3 separate regions of the Homo sapiens genome follow, and all the other regions are linked to region 3. The links are contacts of gene promoters, found by promoter capture Hi-C in blood cells and fetal thymus (Javierre and others, 2016). All regions are on one chromosome and are shown on one strand. The core of a region is centred on a gene start or on the middle of the fragment in contact, and the rest is flanking DNA. Distances in the headings are between cores, read along the strand shown. Region 1 has its middle 79 kb from the start of CBR4. Region 2 overlaps PALLD (palladin, cytoskeletal associated protein). Region 3 holds the start of PALLD-AS1 (PALLD antisense RNA 1).

Evidence for each region. Contacts are between HindIII fragments. The CHiCAGO score rates a contact against its expected background, and 5 or more counts as called.
Region 1: a fragment that was not itself captured here is called in contact with the fragment with the promoter of PALLD-AS1 in region 3 in 1 of 17 cell types (monocytes); the score reaches 5.5 in monocytes.
Region 2: a contact is called between a fragment that was not itself captured here and the fragment with the promoter of PALLD-AS1 in region 3, in 1 of 17 cell types (endothelial precursors). The highest score is 6.2, in endothelial precursors.

Annotation. Positions count from the first base shown.
Region 1 is chr4:168,929,968-168,932,766 of GRCh38, reverse strand. It overlaps a transcript of CBR4 not described here. Among named protein-coding and RNA genes, the nearest start is that of CBR4, 79 kb to the left of the region's middle. RefSeq lists an enhancer at 1,438-1,939. The HindIII fragment of the contact is 2,247 bases long and covers 194-2,440 here.
Region 2 is chr4:168,909,951-168,913,138 of GRCh38, reverse strand. The region is part of intron 15 of PALLD (palladin, cytoskeletal associated protein); the gene reads right to left. It also overlaps a transcript of CBR4 not described here. Among named protein-coding and RNA genes, the nearest start is that of CBR4, 99 kb to the left of the region's middle. The HindIII fragment of the contact is 3,838 bases long and covers 1-3,188 here.
Region 3 is chr4:168,647,136-168,649,950 of GRCh38, reverse strand. PALLD-AS1 (PALLD antisense RNA 1) reads left to right here and starts at 1,364. Exons shown (of 2, transcript XR_001741449.3): 1 at 1,364-1,459; 2 at 1,607-2,055. All of the region lies in intron 2 of PALLD (palladin, cytoskeletal associated protein), which reads right to left. The HindIII fragment of the contact is 4,235 bases long and covers 1-1,527 here.

The DNA.
Region 1 (2,799 bases), core at 68-2,567, 280 kb before region 3:
ATTTCTTTTTTTCCCGGCCTGTAAGGTTTCTGCTATCTGCTGTTGGCCTAATGGGTATTCCCTTATATGTGACTTGACGTTTTTCTCTTGCTGTTGTTAGAATTCTTTCTTTGTATTTGACTTTTGACAATTTGACTATAATGTGCCTCAGAGAGGAACTGTTTAGGTTGAATCTCTTTGGGGACTTTAAGCTTCTTAGAGCTAGATGTTCATCTCTTTTCCAAAACTTGGGAAGTTTTTTGCTGTGATTTCATTAAATCTGTTTTCTATACCTTTTTCCTTCTCTTCTCCATCTGGAGTTCCAAAATGCAAATATTTGTTCACTTAACAGTGTCCCATACATTCTGTAGGCTTTCTTTATTCTTTTTTTTTTGTCTGCATGAGTTATTTCAAAAGGCCTACCTCCAAGTTCAGAAATTCTTTCCCCTGCTTTGTCTAATCTGTTGTTGAAGCTCTTGATTGCATTTTTTATTTTATTCATTGAATTCTTCAACTCTAAGATTTCTGTTGGGTTTTTTTTTTTTATGTTCTTTGTTGAATTTCTCATTCAAATCATGAATTACTTTCCTGATTTGAGGGAACAGTTTAGCTATATTCTCTTTACCTCACTGAGCTTCCTTAAGATTATTATTTTCAATTCTTTTTATGGCATTTCACATATTTCCTTATGATTAAGGTGTGTTACTGGAGCATTATTGTGTTCTTTTGGAGGTATCATGGTTTCTTGTTTTTTCATGTTTGATATGTTCCTTGATGTTGATTTCTATGCATCTGGTAGAACAGTCACCTCTTCTAATTTGATGAAAGGTTTTGTAGGGAAAGACGTATTTGTATTGGAGGATCTTATAGTGTCAGTTAGGGGGGGTGTGTTGGCTTTGGTTCTAGGTGGATGCAGTACTGTAGTGTCTGTGCAGATTCTTCAGCTGTAATCCAGTCTGCTGATGTTTGTAAGTGCCCAGTGGCCTAGGCTGTGAGAATTTGTAGCAGTGGTGGTGCAGCTTTGCTGGGGTGGGCTCACTGGATTGTTTCTCAAATTGGGGGCATGTGTGTGAACGGTGTCAACCAACTTGGGGTCTTGCTTGCTGGGATTGGGGCCACAGGGATGTTTCTCAGGCCCTGGGTACAGGCATGCTCATTTGGCCTGGGGGTGTGTCTGCCAGAGGTGGGCCAAGTGGGCTGTTTCTTGGGCTTGGGACAGTGGTGTGCCTCTCAGCCAGCCAGGGGGTGTGTCCATGGGGGTTGACCCCATGGGGCTCTTTCTTAGGCCCTGGGCATGGTCATGTGACAGCTCACCTGGCCCAGGGGTGTGTCTACTGGAAGTTAATCTCCCAAGCTGTTTCTCAGGCCCTGGGCATGGGCACAGGGCTGCTGGGAAGGTCTAGGGACATGTATGCTGGGATTGGGCCCACTGGACTGTTTCTCATACCCTAGCCTGGGCACAGTTCCACTGGGTAGGCCTGGAGGCATGTCCATGGAGGTAGGGGGCATTGGGCTGTTTCTCAGGCTTAGGAGATAGGCTGGTACTGGTTCTGGCCTGAGGGCATGTCAGGTGCTTAGCAGCTCAGGGGCCCAGTTTGGCCAGCTCAAGGGTAGGTATGTATGCTTTGGGAGAATTTGCTAGACTGTTTCTCTGCCTGGAAGTTCAGGCAATGATGGTTGGTTTTCCTGCTGTGCAGAACCAGAGTCACAGCCAATCCTGGGCCCAGGTTCTGAGCCTCCAGGGTTGTGGCATTGCAGCCACCCATGTGTGCTTGGTGGAATGACAGAGCCGCTGGGCTGGAGAGGTGCATTTGCTACTGGGCCCCACAGCAGGCACCTAAGGGGTGGAGAGTACATATCTCATGTTCCTAATCCAGAGGAATGCAGCTGTGCAATCGACAGTGGCTCTCTAAAGTCGGTTCAGGGCTTGTGAGGACTGTGGAATTCTCCTGTAGTAAGGATTGTAGGTGTTTGCAGTGGTAATGGGGGCTGATGGGGCTCTGCTTACGTTTTCCCAGCAAAGGAAAGTTTCTCCTCTTGACTCCAGGCCAGTCAGAGTTGGGGGATGCAGGGGCATGGGCAGCAGAGACAAGGTGTCTCCATGCTGCCTTCTGGACTTTCAGTGACCGCAGCTACCCCCACTGCACTCCAGTGCTCTTCCTTTGACACTTCAGTTGAATGTTAACTGTTTGTTCATTTGTTGATCCTTTCTTGGGGGGATGAATGCCAGGAACCTCTAGTCAGCCATCTTGCTGACATCACTCTTATGTAACTTCCCTTCCTCGTCAAATGCTGTTTTTCATATTTATCCCTGCCAATAGAAGTAAATCCATTTCTTTACCTTTAACTCTGAATAGTAAGTAATATTTCATTGTATGAATTAATTAGTTTTGTTCCTTCTTCTACTAATGACAAATTAGGCTTTCCTCAAATTTTTTATCCTTTTCTACGTATTTAAGCTTCTGTAGGGCCTGGTTCTTAATTTTTTTGGTGCCATATGCCTTTTTGACCCTCTGGTAAATCTTCTGGATCCCTTCTCAAAATAATGTTCATGGAGGCATAAAATACATAAAACAAATTATTTTTAAGTAATTATCAAAGTATTAAAAACAAATTTATAATACAAATGCCTATAAATTACATCTATTGGTAACTCTAACAACTGCCATAATTTTGAAGTAATGCTGAATTTAGATGGATTTTAAGATATTTCAATATTTGTAATATAATTTTTACTAGGACAGTCCCAGGTATTTTATACTGTTGTGTTTTGTTGCCTACATTCATAATTGAAGGAAATTCTAAATTTCAGCTAGGGGG
Region 2 (3,188 bases), core at 125-2,624, 260 kb before region 3:
AAGTTAGTGGCATCCCTTCCCCAAACCATACATTAAAATGAGCATGATAAAATGAGTGTTATGTAAGAAGTATGCGTGGGATGATAAGGAGAGCTTCATGACTAAATGAAGCCATGTTCTCATGAAATGAACATATTTGAGATTTAAAAACTAGAAGCAGTTAAATACCTAAAATATGTGGGTCATATGATAAGGGCCTATGTAATTAAAAAAACCTATATTTTGTTCTCTTAAATTTGTCAATTGAAATTTTGACGGGGTGGTGGGGTCGGGGAGATAGCCAGAAGTTGGTTAATGGATACAAAATTACAGCTACATAGGAGGAAAAAGTTTTAGTGTTTCACAGCACTGTAGGATAACAATAATTTATTGTGTATTTTCATATAGCTGGAAGAGTGGATTTTGAGTATTTCCAACACAAATGATAAGTGAGGTGACAGATATGCTAATTACCATGATTTGAACATTATACGTTGTATACATGCTTTGAAATATCACACTGTACCTCATAAATATGTATAATCATTGTGTCAACTAAAAATAATAAAAGCAAAAAAAGAGTTTGATAAACGCTGTCATATGTGAACAGACAAGTAATACTCAGGGCACCCAGATGACATGGATAAGCCACACATTGTTACTTTGGTTTTTGTTTCAGCCCTTTCTCTTAATTTGTTTTTTTCACTGTTACCAGCAGAGTAGCAAAAAAGATGATTTTTCTCCTTCACTCTCTCAGAAGAATGAGAAGATGTGCTTCTAAATTGTGATGACTGCCAAAGGTAACAGCAAGAGAGGAAAAACAAGAAGCAGATGTACCATCAATGATTAGACTTAGTGAGTTCTAGCTCAGAGTTGATGAGAAGCCCTCATGCACTTACACTCAGAATAAAATTCTCCCATTGGCTGTCATTTTTATTGCAAGCTGCCTATAGAGACAGGTAACAGAAGCTGCAGTGTTCTGTGTGTTTTGAAGAACTGCTTTCCAACTGTGAGTAGACTGGAGTGGGGGTCAGGGTGAGGGCACTAGTGGAGGGAATGCAGAGAAAAATCCCATAGCAAGATTCACTGAAGGGCAGGACTCTAACTGGGGGGGTTCTCTAGGTCTCCTAAAACCTGGACTTCTTTAGGGCTATAACCACCCAGAAAAGGCAAAGACACATAGGAATGTAATACAGACAGGAGAAGAATGAGGAATTACCAAAGAGAGGTCATCACAAAGAAACAAACATAACTAGTTTTATACCACTACATATGTGACTCCGTCTGGCATTCACGGTGTTTGCTATTGAGGTCATAGTTAAAACACTGTGTTTCCTGAAAATTTCCAAGGAGACATGAAGTCTAACATTATGAAGGAGAATTATTTCTAGCTCAGATTAACTGTACCTGAAGCACAGGCCACTTGATACAGATTCTTATGCTAAACTCTTGGCAAACATTTGGGATTCCCTAAACTAGCCTGAAATCTAAAAATTAATTTCATCCAAGTTCTCCAGATCTGTACTTGCTGTAGAAAATCTAGATGTAACTTGCTTAGAAGACCTCCATCATGAACTATCCAACTGATGCATCATACAAGATAACACATGAACACTTAAAATTAATGATTCTTTTTGGAGGTTGAGGACAAGGAAGTGTGTGTATTGTTTTACACAAATAGCTTCCAATTGTCCTGATGTGGGATATGGCTTCCTTATTATGTGCTTTGCGGCTTCCATGATGAAATGCTTATAATTTGGATATATCCTTCCTTGTGATATGAAGCTCAGAAGATCCATGGTAAGTTAAAATGAACTAATCATTTATGCGGTTAGAAAAAGATATAATGTAAGTTAAATTCAGACTTAAACTTGAATTTGGAAAAGGAGGTATGGGTTGTTACAAACAGTCAAACAAACACACCTCACTAACCTGGATTTGAGTGCTGACTTTTCCTAAAACTTTGAGCAAATCACTGAATTTGTTCAAGCCTTTGTTTCTTTTTCTGTACAAATAGGGATGCTACATATATCTCTCACAAGGATGTTTTAAGGGTTAAATGATGTAACCTAAATGCTCTCATAAATATCAAATGGTATGTGACATCATAAATTATCATTATTAAATTCCTCATAGCTGGTACTGTGTTATCATGGGTCTGAGACATTATGCATGGACATGCATCAAGATGGTTTTTAGGAGCCCCAGCAGCTTGGCGGACCCCAGCAAGAATTTCCATGTGAATATACTTTACATGAGGTATATGCTTACCTCCTTCTAAAATTCTTTCATATTTAACCACTATCTCCCCTGCCACTTAGTGCTCTTAATCCTGGAATGAGCCTTAAATACCTTCGTATTGCATTCAGTAGCTCTGGAATCAGTCTAAGTTTGTAAACCAGTTCTGCTGTCCCTTACAGGTGAGTGACTTTAGGCAGGTAACTTAATCTTTCTAAGTTTCCTTCTCTGTAAAACAAGGCCATATAGTTAATACCTAATGGGTTCTTATGAAGATTAAAGGCATTAATACTTGTAAAGCACCGGGCAGCATTGTGTTTTGCATGAAGCCAATGCTCAAAATGTTAAATTATTGTAGCACTCACTATGGATATAATTATAATAACCAGTTTTGAGGCATCCTTTAGAATTGTTTATGTAATGGAATTTTATTTTTCTTGGTATTAGAATGTAATTTACTCCAAAGGAAAAACAAAATACCTTTGGCACAGGAGGCAGACTATGTGGGAAGCAGATTAACCTTTTTAACTTCTGCTGGTGCTTGAAAGGTGCTAAGCACAATCATACTGAAATGTACTTGTTAGTGTGATGGCTGCATTTGATGTGGAGGAGGAAAAATATGCCCTATTCAGCTCTAAACAGATCCTTGATATGCTTAGCCTGCCTCTTCCTCCCCTCTCAAAAAAAAAAAAAAAAAAAAAGTAAACAGGTTGGCATACTACTCTGGAAAGGTCACACATTTCTACACTGTTTTCAGGGTTTTTGCTGCTACTGCTTAGAACCATATATACAAATATTGCCACAGAATATTTCCTTAACTTCCCAAATTTAAGAAAAAGGAATAGTTATCATTTGTAATCTCTCTATTCTGATACCAACCTGCACTTCTGAACATGAAAGGGGAAGGTGTGGTCTTCAGGAGGCAGAATTATTAGTTTGATTTATACAGTGTTATTGGCTAAATATATTAC
Region 3 (2,815 bases), core at 115-2,614:
CGCCTCAGCCTCCCAAAGTGCTGGGATTACAGGCGTGAGCCACCATGCCTGGCCACTTTATATATTTTAAACTTATTAAAATGTACAAAAGAGAAACCTGAAGAAAAACAAAATGATATTAGAATACCCCATTTATGCTGCATTTTAAAAGATGCAAAGAAATACATACGTTTTAGGACCATTATGTTGTAGGAAAAGAGACTTGCATTATTATTTCCTCATTCCTTAACTATGGAGGTCTTTTATACCCATATTTTATTAGTACCTTCCTCATAAGGTTGTTATGCAAACAAGGTAATGCATATCTAACCTCTGCTATGGGGCTTGATGCATGTTACCCAATAAAGTTAGCTGGCTGTTATAATTTCTTTCCAAAGCTAAGGAAAAAGACCATTGTGGAGGCACAGAAAGCAAATTAAGAAAATAAGTCTCTGACTTGGGATGCAGGCAACTAATGTCTTCCACGTTTCCTATTTGAGAGCACTTCCATGACACCTGGGTTATATATTAATGTGTTCATAATATTGGCCTTTGTTTCTAAAACTTCCCACTATTATGAGGGCCATTGGGGGCTTTCTAAAACATGGTCTTAATAAGAATCAAATTGAATCTGATTAAAGAAAACAAATGTTAGCAATTGTTTTATAAACTTAAGTATATAGTCTGAAAACTAGATCTATTGATGCAAAGAGATACTAAAAAAACTCACACCAGCCAGCGATTATCTCATCTTGCTGCAGATAGGAGGTGAAAAATACCACACTGTATTATAAATGAGCGCATGCAGAATGTGACACGTCAGGCTGGTATTCTGTTGTGCTTCCTTAACAACCAAGCAATAGCTTATAGGAAAGTTCTTGGCTCTGCTGAGTCAAAGTCCCAAGAACAGGATGCTTTTTATCCATGAAGTGACTCTTGAAGAAGTAAAAGAAGTCTAAGTTCCACTCCTTAAGCAGTCTTTGGGTTGGATCTTGAAAACCTTGCTGGGAGGAGAGAGAAGCTAATTATGAAACAAAATGGAAACTTGCATATACAGGAGAAGATGACAAGGTGTCTACTTACAGCTTTTACTCCAGTGGTGATGGGAGCAGGGTGAGAGAGATAATAAGCACTTAAATGATACCACATGAATAAAATAATTTCAGACAGGGAAATGTTATGAAGAAAACAAAATACAGTAAGAGTGATTGGAGCATATTAGGTAGGGTAGTTGTAGAATACAGTGAGGTAATTTAATGATGCAACAATAGTGCCTTCCACCAAGTTTGTGTAAGCATAAAGATATCAGCACATAAGAAGAACATTCATGAAGAGACCTTAAAAGCAGATGCTTGGTGCAAAAGTACTCATGCCAAGAGATTCTCTAATAATGCGCAATGCATCACCTATCTCAAAAGAGGCTCCCCAAACCCTCGGATTTATTAGGACTAACTGGCCGGTCTCTTACTCTCCAGACAAAGTACTTACACTTTCTTCGCTGACAGCATTCTCTCTTATTAATTTATACCCATATGGACCGAAAAAGCTTTCACTTATGACATAATATAGAATTTGCATCTATCTCTACAGTAACATGACCCATTTTTCCCCCTTCATTATGCCATAGATTTCTACTTTTTCTCTCTCAAGTTGCAAAACAACTATTTCTAATGATGGATTAAAAACCTGAAGCTGCTATTCCATTATGAACCTCTATCTAGTAGCTACTGCAAACTGCTCAGCTCCTTTGCTTGAAACCTCCAGGAGGGCTCTGGTGAGTAAGAAAAGCAGAAGAAAATTGCTTCCGGGATTGCTGGGTAAGAACTGCCTCTGGTGCTCTCTGGAGCATACTATCTCTTTATAAGAAGCAGACAAACCAGGAGTCAGGGGGGAGTTCACATCAAATCACCTTCAGAAGCTGTCAACAGTCCCAGAGAACTACCTTAGTGGACGGAAAGAAGGATGCGGAAAAAGGAGAGATGATGCAGCCTTGCTTTACGTTTGCAAATTGGATAAATAAGGAAAATATTTAATTCTTTAAAAAAATGTTAAATAAATGGGAGCTTTTCAACTTGAGGAGTGCACTGTAATAGAGTGATTACATGAAGGGAGCTCTGAAAAACTGCCAAGACTTTCTTTGTAACTACTTTTAAATATGCATGCCACTTCTTTTTTTTTTTTTTTTTTTTTTGAGACAGAGTCGGGCTCTGTCACCCAGGCTGGAGTACAATGGCACAATCTCCGCTCACTGCTGCCTCCGCCTCCAGGGTTCAAGCTATTCTTCTGTCTCAGCCTCCGGAGTAGCTGAGATTACAGGTGTGCACTACCATGCCCAGCTAATTTTTGTATTTTTAGTAGAGACGGGGTTTCACCATATTGGCCAGGCTGGTCTCGAACTCCTGACCTCAGATGACGTGCCTGCCTTGGCCTCCCAAAGTGCTGGGATTACAGGCATGAGCTACACGCCCGGCCACATGCCACCTCTTTTTTAAGAGACTGTTTTACACATAGGCTTATTATTGGGATCTACTGTTATGATTTGTCTTCCTAGCAGCCTTAGAAACATCTTTTTCTTTAAATATTTTAATAATTAATCCTGATCTCTAAGAAAAAACACAGTCCATTGTAGTAAGTGAACTAGAGAATCTTCTAAATTTTGCAGTGTTGTCTTTATAGTCAGCCTAACCTTTCTGAAGAACTTACTAGATCCTAACTAGACCCTTCAAAAATCTTAAATGCCAGAGAAAATATTCTACTGTCTAATCTTTACATTTTTAAGGACTTCTTCTAGGTTTAAAAGGCTGCTGAAATGTTTGATCCCTTTCATAGTGGATGG